Regions from separate parts of the Homo sapiens genome. Here all the other regions are linked to region 3. Evidence: promoter capture Hi-C in 16 types of primary human blood cells and fetal thymus (Javierre and others, 2016). All regions are on one chromosome and are shown on one strand. The core of a region is centred on a gene start or on the middle of the fragment in contact, and the rest is flanking DNA. Distances in the headings are between cores, read along the strand shown. Region 1 overlaps MIRLET7IHG (MIRLET7I host gene). Region 2 has its middle 31 kb from the start of MIRLET7I. Region 3 holds the start of MON2-AS1 (MON2 antisense RNA 1).

Evidence for each region. Contacts are between HindIII fragments. The CHiCAGO score rates a contact against its expected background, and 5 or more counts as called.
Region 1: a contact is called between a fragment that was not itself captured here and the fragment with the promoter of MON2-AS1 in region 3, in 3 of 17 cell types (total B cells, naive CD8 T cells and naive CD4 T cells). The highest score is 6.4, in total B cells.
Region 2: a fragment that was not itself captured here is called in contact with the fragment with the promoter of MON2-AS1 in region 3 in 1 of 17 cell types (total B cells); the score reaches 5.7 in total B cells.

Annotation. Positions count from the first base shown.
Region 1 is chr12:62,614,147-62,617,635 of GRCh38, forward strand. It overlaps MIRLET7IHG (MIRLET7I host gene), which reads left to right. Exons shown (of 2, transcript NR_186001.1): 2 at 1-3,489. Among named protein-coding and RNA genes, the nearest start is that of MIRLET7I, 12 kb to the left of the region's middle. The HindIII fragment of the contact is 2,304 bases long and covers 1,052-3,355 here.
Region 2 is chr12:62,633,147-62,637,031 of GRCh38, forward strand. No RefSeq gene overlaps it. Among named protein-coding and RNA genes, the nearest start is that of MIRLET7I, 31 kb to the left of the region's middle. The HindIII fragment of the contact is 913 bases long and covers 1,925-2,837 here.
Region 3 is chr12:62,482,582-62,486,363 of GRCh38, forward strand. It overlaps MON2-AS1 (MON2 antisense RNA 1), which reads right to left and starts at 2,361. Exons shown (of 2, transcript NR_186172.1): 1 at 2,188-2,361; 2 at 1-451. MON2 (MON2 regulator of endosome-to-Golgi trafficking) reads left to right here. Exons shown (of 35, transcript NM_015026.3): 2 at 1,589-1,652. The HindIII fragment of the contact is 7,471 bases long and covers 1,869-3,782 here.

The DNA of each region.
Region 1 (3,489 bases), core at 954-3,453, 130 kb after region 3:
TAGGAATCTGGGGACAAAGGGACAGATAAGTGGTGTAGACAAAGAGGCTGGAAATAGGGTTATGGGCTAGATCATGAGTGACCTGTAAGCATTAGGAGTTTTGATTTATTTTGGAATAAGAAACATTTATGGCTTTTGAGAAGGAAAATTACACAAGGGAAAAGAAAGGATTTTTATTTTTTATTTTTATTTTTGGAGAGATGAGATCTCACTATGTTGCCCAGGCTGGTCTTGAACTCCTGAACTCAAGCAATCCTCCCGGCTCGGCCTCTGAAACTTCTAGGATTATAGGCGTGAGCCACTACGCCCAGCCAGGATTATGTTTTTTTATGGGAGGGATGAGAATATTGGTAGGTGGGTAGAGGATAAATGAGAGAGAATATGTATATGTGAGATTGAATATATAATAGAAAAAATTGATAGGACAAGTCCTGCGTTATTACTACATTTTATGAGGAAAATCTATATATTAGAAGCACTTTAAAGGTATATTTGCTATTCTAGCTGTGGAAACCATCTGAAAACACATTTGAAAGTGCTTTGAAACAGGGGTCAACTTCTCTGCAAAGGGCCAGAGTATGTTTAGCTTTGCGGGCCACAGATGGCCTCTGTTGCATATGCTGCTGGGTCTCCACCTTCCTCCTCCTTTTCTTCCCTTCCTCTTCCTTCTTTTTCTTCTTCTCTTTCTTCTTTCTCTTTAAAAGCATAAAATCATTCTCAGCTCTTGGGCCATACAGAAACAGGCCATAGGCCAGATTTGACTTCTAGGCCATAGTTTGCCGACCCTCCATTTTAGAACTTAGCTTTCCTGAAAGAGCATTTGGGTCTCTCTCTCTCTTTCCCTTTCTCTCTCTCTGTCTCTCTCTCTCTCTCTTTCAGTAAGTGAAGTAAGAAATAGGTCTTTCTTGAGGAACAAAAAGCTGAAATAATTTCATGCATTTGAATATGACCCTTGACCTGTTTTTGTCCATCATCACTCAGATTTGTGGCTGCAACCACCAACCAATTTGGTGCCATAGGATATAGCATAATTTTTCAGCAACAGTTCATAAGCTTTTCTTTTTGTTCTTTTTCCTTCTTCCAGTTGTGGTGGTTTAAAAACATGTCTGCAAAATCTTTGACACTTCTCAGTAAAAAATATAGTCTTGTGTTCCCTTTTCTTGAACCTAAGTGGCCTTTGTGCTGCCTCAACAAATAGAATATGACAGAAAAGACACTATGTGACTTTTGAGACAGGGTCATAAGAGGTGATACAGCTTCCCCATGCCCCTGCATTTTAGAGCTCTGGGTTGCCATGTAAGAATAGCTACCCTGAAGCTACCATGCTGAAGAGACCACAGGGAAATCACATAGAGTTAGAAAGAGGTGTCTGAAGAAGCCCAGCTGCTCCCAATCCCAGCTATTTAAGTCCTCCCAGACCAGGTGCCATATATATGAGTGAGCAAGCCTTCAGATGGTTCCAGCACCAGCCACCATCTAGCTGTAAGCTCATGAGACCCCTTCAACGAAAACCATCTAGATTAGCTTAGTCAAGCCCCAGAACCGTGAAAGACAATAGACTTGCTATGGAGGTCGCCACATGCCTCTTTTTTCTCCCTTTGTGAATGGGATTATTTATAATGGTTACCCCATACCTACTCCACTATGTATATTGGGTATGAGGGAGAGATAATTTGTCTCACTAGCTGACAGATTTTTCAGACCTCAAGGAATGCCACGTGAGCTGTACTCACAGGACCACACACAAGTATCTTTATCCACACGTGACCTGATTTCACTGATAAAGTCCTGGACCTTGAGCCTGAGCCCAATGTCTTAATAAATGAGAATTTCAGAAGGTCTTGGGAGGGGGTGAGTATATTTTGCATGTGGGAAGGATGTAAATAATATGTGGCCTGAGAGCAGATTATGGTGGTTTGAAAATGTGTCCACCAATTCTTTAATACTACTCTCAACAAGAGGTGGAATCTGTGTCTCTTCCTTTGGAACATGAGTGGACCTTTGTGATTAAATGCAGCAGAAGGATGCTGTGTGAACTCTGAGACAGGGTAATAAGGGGTGATACAGCTGCCACCTAGTTCTTTCTCAGAACATGTGCCTTTGGAGCCCTGAGCTGCCATGGAAGAAAACCACCTACCCTGAAGCCACAACACTGGAAAGACCATGTGGAAGAACCACAGAGAGAGAGAAGAGGACCAAATGTGTGAGCCTTCCCAGCCCAGGCTCCAAATATGCAAGTAGTAAGCCTTCATTTCTTTTTGGTTTTAATTTTTTTTTTTAAATAAATCGAAATGGGTTCTCACTATGTTGCCCAGGCTGGTCTTGAACTCCTAAGCTCAAGTAATCCTCCTACCTCAGTCTCCCAAAGTGCTGGAATTGTAGGCATGAGCCACCATGCCCGGCTGCAATTAGTAAGTCTTCAGATGCTTCCATCACCAGCCACCATCCGATGACAACCCCATGAATGACCCTCAGCAAGAACTACCTAGCTGAATCCAGCCAAACTCCAGACCCATGAGAGAGAAATAAAATTGTTGTTTGAGTCACTAAATACGGAGTAATTTATATTATCAACAGATAACTGGAACCACAAGTGTAATTGTTAAAGGTAAAACTTTGAATACATTTATATTTGCCTTCTGCCACATTCCATAATTGACTTTTGTTCATGAACCTATTGGCAAGTTTGCCTTATTGCTTTTCCTTCTTCCCTCTTTTTTTTTTTTGTAACTTAAAAAATCATATAATAAAACAACACAAAAATGTATTTGAATGTAGGTTGAGTGACCGTAAATAAGCACAAAACTTCTCCTTCCTGTGACTCTCTTGTCTGTATATGCCAAGTATCTAACACAAGGCCTGCCTGGCACATAATTTTTTTTTTTAAATGTTAGTCTCTTTTATCATTCTTTTTCCCTGTCAGTGGTATTATCTTTACCCATGGAATCCAGCACCCTCATGCTGACTTATAGTTCCCCAAAGTCCCTAACCTCTACAGTCCTCTCCAACCCCCACCCCAGGCCTCTCTCTATGTTCCAGACATTTTCTGGCTTTTTACCATTATCCAAACTCTGAACTTATCTACTTAGTTTTTATAAAAAAACACAGAGTGACTACATAGCTAATATAAATAATGCCAGTGTTAACACAAAAATTTGACTTGAATGATTACAATAGCAAACTTCAATGTTTACCCCATGGAATAGGCAGAAAATTTCAAGCACTTTTCTAGGCCACCTGAGTCTATTTTGAGTAAGGATCCTTAAGTTGATACTCAAGTAATGACATTGATGCAATGTAGAAGACTATGCTAAAATTTGTCCTGGCTTCTCTCCATGCTATGGGCCATCTGTAAAGCTTTGGAGTCTAGGTCAGATGTATGCGTTGTCTCCTCTTTGCTACCATTTTTGTACAGATTTCTAATCTAAATAAAATTAATGGCAATAACAGTGTGGAAAGGGAAAGCCTAAAAGAAAGAGGGTTTTTGAA
Region 2 (3,885 bases), core at 1,131-3,630, 150 kb after region 3:
TTCCATTTTACCCTTATCATCCTCCTATTTGGTGATGTTCCTCCCCTCCCCTCTCCTCCCCAGAAAAAAGCAGTTTCCACATGTGCCCTCCTAACCCTCCTTTCTGTAACTTCCATAAAAAATGCCCCTTTTCCGGGCGCGGTGGCTCACACCTGTAATCCCAACACTTTGGGAGACCGAGGGGTGCGGATCACTTGAGGCCAGGAGTTCGAGACCAACCTGAGCAACATGGTGAAACCCTGCTTCTACTAAAAAACAAAAACAAAAAAACCAAAAATTAGCCGGGCGTCGTGGTGCGTACCTGTAATTCCAGTCGCTCTAGAGGCTGAGGCATGAGAATTGCTTGAACCTGGGAGGCAGATGTTGCAGTGAGCCGAGATCGCGCCACTGCACTCCAGCCTAGGCGACAGAGCAAGACTCTGTCTAAAAAAACAAACAAAAAACAAACAAAACTGTTTTCCCTTCCCTGGTGGCTCAGGGGCACAGTCACTCTCTTGCACAGCCTGATGGCAGGAGATGGGGTGAGGGTGGCTGGGCTGGGGTGGCCCTGGGAAGACGATATCAGAACAATAATACTTGACTGCCCTACCAACCTAACCGCCTCATAGCCCCTCAGGACTCCAGTCCAGTGAGGGACACTGTTTAGGGCTGAAATGTGTTCAAAATTTATATGAGAGTCAAAACTGCGAGTATCTCAGAATGTGACTGTATCTGAAGATAGGGCCTTTATAAAGAGGTAATTAAGGTCAAATGAGGTCACATGGGTGGGCCTTAATCCAATCTGGTTAGTGTCCTTTGAAGAAAAGGAAATTCAGACACACAGAGGATTTGTTTACACGGAGAAATGACATGACGAGAGGGAGGCGATCTGCAAGCCAACCAAAGAAGCCTCAGGAGAAACTGAACCTGCTGGCACCTTAGCCACCCAGTCCGTGATATTTTATTATGGCACACGAATACAGGTACTAAGGAGGTCTGTCCAGAAGTCAGTCCTGAAGTCCTCCCTCCTCCTCCGTGACCTGGGAACTCTCCCTCAGGATGGTACTGGCCTGGCACAACTTTTCTTTTTGTTATATTCCAGGTGTTCTTGTTCTTTGAGACAGGAACCTATACCCAGTGAAATTTCCCTGTTGCTGAGTCTTTATTTCTACCCCTCTTGTTTGATTTTTCAGTTTTGTCCTGTGTAAGATTCCCAGATAAAATAGAAGACACCCATTTAAATTTGAATGTCAGATGATAGTAGTTTTTTAGTATGAGTACAACCCAAATATTGCAAGGGACATACTTAATTTAAAAAATTCTTTATCTGAAATTCAAATCCAAGTAGATGTCCTGTATCTTTTGTCTGATAAGTCTGCAAACGTTACTTTAGAGGTGTGTCCTTAGTATCTTTACACAGTGTTTCTCACCTTAGAATCAGCTAGAAAACTTTTTTTTTTTGAGATGGAGTTTCGCTCTTGTTGCCCAGGCTGGAGTGTAGTGGTGTGATCTCGGCTCACCGCAACCTCCACTTCCTGGGTTCAATCGATTCTCCTGCTTCAGCCTCCCAAGTAGCTGCAATTACAGGCACGTGCCACCACACCTGGCTAATTTTGTATTTTTAGTAGAGACGGGTTTCTCCATGTTGGTCAGGCTGGTCTTGAAATCCTGACCTCAGGTGATCCGCCCGCCTCGGCCTCCCAAAGTGCTGGGATTACAGGCGTGAGCCACCGTGCCTGGCCAAAACATTCAAAAGATACTGATGATTGGGTCCCTCCCTGGGGGATTCTGATTTAATTGGTCTGAGGTCTGACCTGGTAGACAGGGTTTTTTTAATGCTCCCAGGTGATGTTAACATGCAGCCAAGCTACAGAAGCACTGCAGGAAGGGACAGGTATTAACTAAATGTTCACAGCTATTTCATTGTTGTATTTAAGCTCCCTTAAGCTTAAATTCTTTGGGTTTCTTGTTCCTTTGTTCTGCTAAAAATGTCATCTTATTACTCCTCTTATTGCTGAGCCCAGAGGCAAAGGTCAAACAGATCATCGAAAAATGCCCTGTTAGTATGTGAAATGGTCATCTTATTTCAGGTCAACTGAGCCCATAGAGAGAGATGTCAAGAGCTGTAATATTGATACCACCACAGCAAATGACTTTCCATCCAGACACATTCGGTTTTATAACAAATAGTGCAACTGGGCACCCTGGTAAAAGATTTACCTTTTACCATTACTTTTATTACAGACCACTGCTCAAGAATGTAGGATCTGTTTTAAGCATACTTCTAGTTCAAGAGGATTTGAACATAATTTCGTTCAGTTCTTCCAGACCCTGACTATCTGTCCTTTTTGACTATTAGTTGGCATTTATAGAGAGCCAAATCTTACTTGCTCCTCACTATTTACTGAAAAGTTGGAAGATTCAGGTACTATGGTTAAAACCCGTGGGGTAACACACCATTCATTCTGCTTGTGTAAGGGCCTTATAATGGGGTCTGGTACTCAATGTCACCATGAAGACAAGCCTTGACAACATACACCTTCATAGTGCATGCTAAGGAGCTGTTGGCAGAGCTACAGCTGAGCAAGAGTCAAAACTAGATGAGAGGAAAATAAGATGCCTGTGACAAAAACACATTTTATAGAAAATGGTGCTGGTGGGTCAGCAGATGACATTGATTAGTTAGTATGTCTCAGTGCAAAGTTCAGGGATGGGGATTCAATGTGAAAGGGCTTTGTTAAAAATGCCATCCAAATAAGGGTGTACACAATGGAGGTTTTGTGACTAGCCCTTATTATCTAATGAGAAGTTACAGAAAACTGGAGTGGTAATTGGCAGTTGGGTGTCGACTACATATAAGCTTTAGATTTGAAATATTGGCTTTGGTGCTACTTGGCACTGTGTCCATGGGAAACTACTTTACCTACCTGAACTTTTATTTTTTCATGTGGAAAAGGGCTTTCAGAATGGCAGAATAAAAACCTCTGAAAATCTACTCCTCCATACAAAGAAAATTCTGGCAAAAATTGCCAGAACCAACTTTTTCAGAACTCTGGAAATTAACCAAAGGACTGCAACAATCTGAGGAATGTGTATTCAAGAAAAATGGCTGAACCTCAGTAAAAATAGGGAGCTTTGTGACATTTAGTTTTAAAGAGACAGGGTCTCTGTCACCCAGGCTGGAGTGCAGTGGTGCAATCATAGCTCACTGCAGCCTCAAACGATCCTCCCACTTCAGTCTTCTGAGTAGGTGGGACTACAGGTGCGTGCCACCATGCCCAGCTAATTTTTATTTTTTATTTTTAGAGGCAAGACTTTGCCTCTAAAGTTGCTCAGGCTGGTCTCAAACTCCTGGGCTCAAGCGATCTTCTCACCTCAGCATCTTTGAATAGTCGGGATTACAGGCATGTGACACCTCACCTGTATGTAACATTTTTACTTGACCAATCTCCTTACCCTTCTTTCCAGATCTGTGGTAGGCTTGAACACTAACAGCTTCTCAACCATGACAGCTCTGAGTACCAGCAGACTAGCAGCCAACAGTGAGGCAGAATAGGTTTGCAGCCCTAGCAGACCTGTTTACAAGAAATGCTTTTTTTTTTTTTTTTTTTTTTTTGGAGACAGGGTCTCACTCTGCTGCCCAGGCTGGAGCACAGTGGTGTGATCATGGGTCACTGCAGCCTCAGACTCTTGGGTTCAGTGATCCTCCTACTTCACCCTTTCACGCAGCCAGGACTACAGGTGCACACCCGGTTTATTTGTAAACTTTTTTTTTTTTTTGAGACAGAGTCTCGTTCTATCACACAGGCTGAAGTGCAGGCATGATCTCTGCTCACTGCAACCTCCGTCTCCCCGGCTCAAGCGATCCTTCTGCCTCAGCCTCCCAAGTAGCTGGGACTACAGGTA
Region 3 (3,782 bases), core at 1,111-3,610:
CAGTGTATGTATAAAATAGCATGTTTCTAAATAATAAAAATGTTCCAAGTTTCTATGATGGAAATAATATGTCAATATTATATCTCAGCACTCTTCAATGGAATTATAATGTGGGCTACAGATGTAATACATATACGTAATTTTTAACTGCATTAAAAAGTAAAAAGAAGCCAGGTGCAGTGGCTCATGCTTGTAATCTTAGCACTTTGGGAGGCTGAGGTGGGAGGATCGGTTGAGGCCAGTAGTTCAAGACTAGCCTAGGCAATATAGCAAGGCCCTGTCTCTACCAAAAAAATTGAAAAATTAGCTGGACATGGTGGCATGTACCTATAGTACCAGCTCCTTGGAAGACGGTGGTGGAAGGATCACTTGAGCCCAGTAGTTTGAGGCTGCTGTAAGCCATGATTGTGGCATTGCACTCCAGGCTGGGCAGTACAGCAAGATCCTGTCTCTAAAAAAAAGGGGAAAAAAAGTAAAAAGAAACAGACATTTAATTTTAATAATAATTTAACGTAATAATTTGAAATATTATTTCAACATGTAGTCAGTATAAATATTTAGGGGATAGGTTATATTCTTTTTTTTAATACTAAGTCTTCAAAACCTAGTATATATTTTACACTTAGAGCATAGCTCAATTCAGACTGGCCACATTTCAAGTGCTTAATAGCCACATGTAGCCAAATGGCTACCAAATTGGACAGTGCAGTTCTGTGGCATTCTGTAAAATACTATGTGACTTGCCAGTACTGCCCGCTAAACATACTACGGTTAATGAAGTGTTTGGTTATCCATTCTCAAAAAAGAAAACAAAGTAGCTTTTAAAATCCAACACAGGTCTGGGCACGGTGGCCCATGCCTGTAATCCTGGCACTTTGGGAGGCTGAGATGGGTGGATCACTTGAGGTCAGGAGTTCAAGACCAGCCTGGCCAACTAAAAATACAAAAAGTACAAAAATAAAACACTCTACTAAAAATACAAAAATTAGCCAGGCATGGTGGTGGGTGCCTGTAATCCCAGCTACTTGGGAGGCTGAGGCAGGAGAATGGCTTGAACCAGGGAGGCGGAGGTTGTAGTGAGCCAAGATCGTGCCATTGGACTCCAGCCTGGGCAACAAGAGCAAAAAACTCCATCAACAATAAATAAATAAATCCAACACAGTAGTTTTACTTGATTTTGCAGTGTTCTATAATTTTTTTGTGTGTGGTGGAGAGAGAGGAGGCTTGAAATGGGGAAAAGGAGCCTAATTATTTTCAGTAGATTTTGTTTTTGTTTGTTATTTTTATTCTCGGAAAATTTAACTTTGCAGGGGATTGAGGTATTCCAGATAATGCCTTAAGGCAGAGGAAGGCAACATGTTGTAGTGCATTCAGAGTTTGCATGTGAATAATCAAATTAATCATGTTTTATTACATTTAACGTATATGTCACTACTGGGCTTAGTATCTGATGGTTTGAAAATTAAAAAGGTGGTAGGGTAGTGACTGACTTTGTGCTTGATATTTTGTCTATCACATATGACTTATTTTCCATAGATAATTCATTTTGGCAGTAAATTTTGTGTTCTAATTATTTTTATTCTTGCAGGCTGCTGAATCAGGAATAATAAAAGTTAAAACAATTGCTGCACGAAACACTGAAATTTTGGCAGGTAATTTTTTGTATTAAAAATTTAATAATAAACAAAAATTTGACTAATAGTAAAAGTAGAATCTTTATTGTAAAAGCCATCAGTTTTCTGTAACATCTCTTCCTCATGCCCTAACATATGCTATTCATAATGAAACAGAATGGGCAAAAGTCCATAACTTATGAACTGACTGTATTTCCCAGAGACGAATGCTACAAAAATTCTCTGAAATCAGAAAGCTTAACACTACTGACTCCTTAAAGGCAAGGAATTTTTTCTTACTCATCTTCGCATTCTCCTCCACTTCCTGCTAATCACCTGAGACACACCATAAAAAGCATTCAGTAATATTTGTTCCATTGTATTGAATGAAAGATTTGTTCTCAGTCCACCTTCTGTGATCTACTTTCTCTTTAATATAATACGAACAGTTCATAACATAGTCTTCTGTATTTAGTTGTACCGTATGAATTTTGAGTCTTGGGATTAAGGCAGTATGATCATGAAAAAAGAATGAGAGTGAAGTAGAGAAAAGAAAACAAAAATGTTTTCTTACCTTCTCTTGATTGAACCTGATTTTCAAGGAGGAATTTTCAGGAGTTTCTCTTTGGCATCCTTCTTTTCTACCCAGTCCACTCCTTTCTCTTCCTTGGTGCCTTTTGTTCTTGCCTCAATAATGAACATGGAAAAGAGGTAAACTGGCTTTTTTTTTTTTTTTTTTTTAAGAATCTGTTATATGCAAGGCACTTGTGTCATTCTATCTTACATAACAACCTTGTGGGGAAATATTATCTTATTTGATAGTAGAGCTAATTGAGATGTGAAGAGGTTAAGTTACTTGCCCAAGGTCACAGGAAAGGTGATAGAACCAGATTAAAATCCAGGAGTGTTCAGGAGCCCATGTTCTTCCTGCTACAGTGTGCTACCATGGTATCACCAGGTTTCCACGTTAGCCACTTACTCCCAAGTATTACATATGTAACCAGTGCTTGCTTCAGTGATCCTTTAATCTGCATTTCCAGTTCCAGTAGTGCTGTTGATCTCAGCTAATCTATGAGGAAAGTAGTCCTATTAAATTAATTTACAGAGTCCAAATAGTAAATAATCTCTTTAACTTTCATATACTTTACATTTTTTAAAAGGGATACCAGTAAATCTGTAACTGGTGGGATTTCAGAGTGTTATGAAATGAAATTAAGATTTTTGGGGTCAGATTAAGGATCGGGGGCAAGAGTGGATTTCACTTAGGCTATCCAGCTTTGCTGGAAATTTGCCCTTAGCATAAGCGCTCCTCAATTACATCTGTTTCCCACAGCTTTTTCCCTGATTTTGAACAGTCTTATCAAAACACCCAATAGTTTTATAACATTATGCACAGAAGTAAATAATGCTCTGTGTGCATATTGAGAAGTGGTATAGTGAAAGTGGTGGGTAAAGGCAGAGGTGCACATGGTAGGGTTAGGAAGGCTGGCAAGTGGGTTTTTTTTGTTTGTCTGTTTGTTTTTCCTGAGATGGACTTTTGCTCTTGTTATCCCAGCTGGAGTGCAATGGTGTGGTCTCGGCTTACTGCAACCTCTGCCTCCTGGGTTCAAGCGATTCTCCTGCCTCAGCCACCCGAGTAGCTGAGATTTCAGGTGCCCAACACCACATCTGGCTAATTTTTGTATTTTTAGTAGAGACAGGGTTTCATCATGTTGGCTAGGCTGGTCTCGAACTCCTGACCTCGGGGTTCTCCCGCCTCGGCCTCTCCAAGTGTTGGGATTACAGGCGTGAGCCACTGCGCCCGGCCAGCATGTGGGTTTTAATGGGAGATGTACATTAGGCAGATTAGCTACTGTGGGGAAATTGGTGTTTAAAGAAAAATGATGACCTGGATATTTTTATGTTGGAGACTTACCATAGGCCAATCGTATTAGAATATCACTGTAAATATTTAAAATATTTACTGTTGCTAATATCATTGTTGATACCGTGGTAAGTCCTTAATTATTCTCCAATAATACAAATTTTTATTGGTTTTATAGTTTGTGGAAGACTTTTTTTAAAAAAAGACTGATTTCCTCAGAGGATCACTGTTATTCCAGCATTCTATCCCAAGTAAAATGTCTAATAAATTACTCTTAAGATGAGTAAGAAAAATTTTGACTTAGT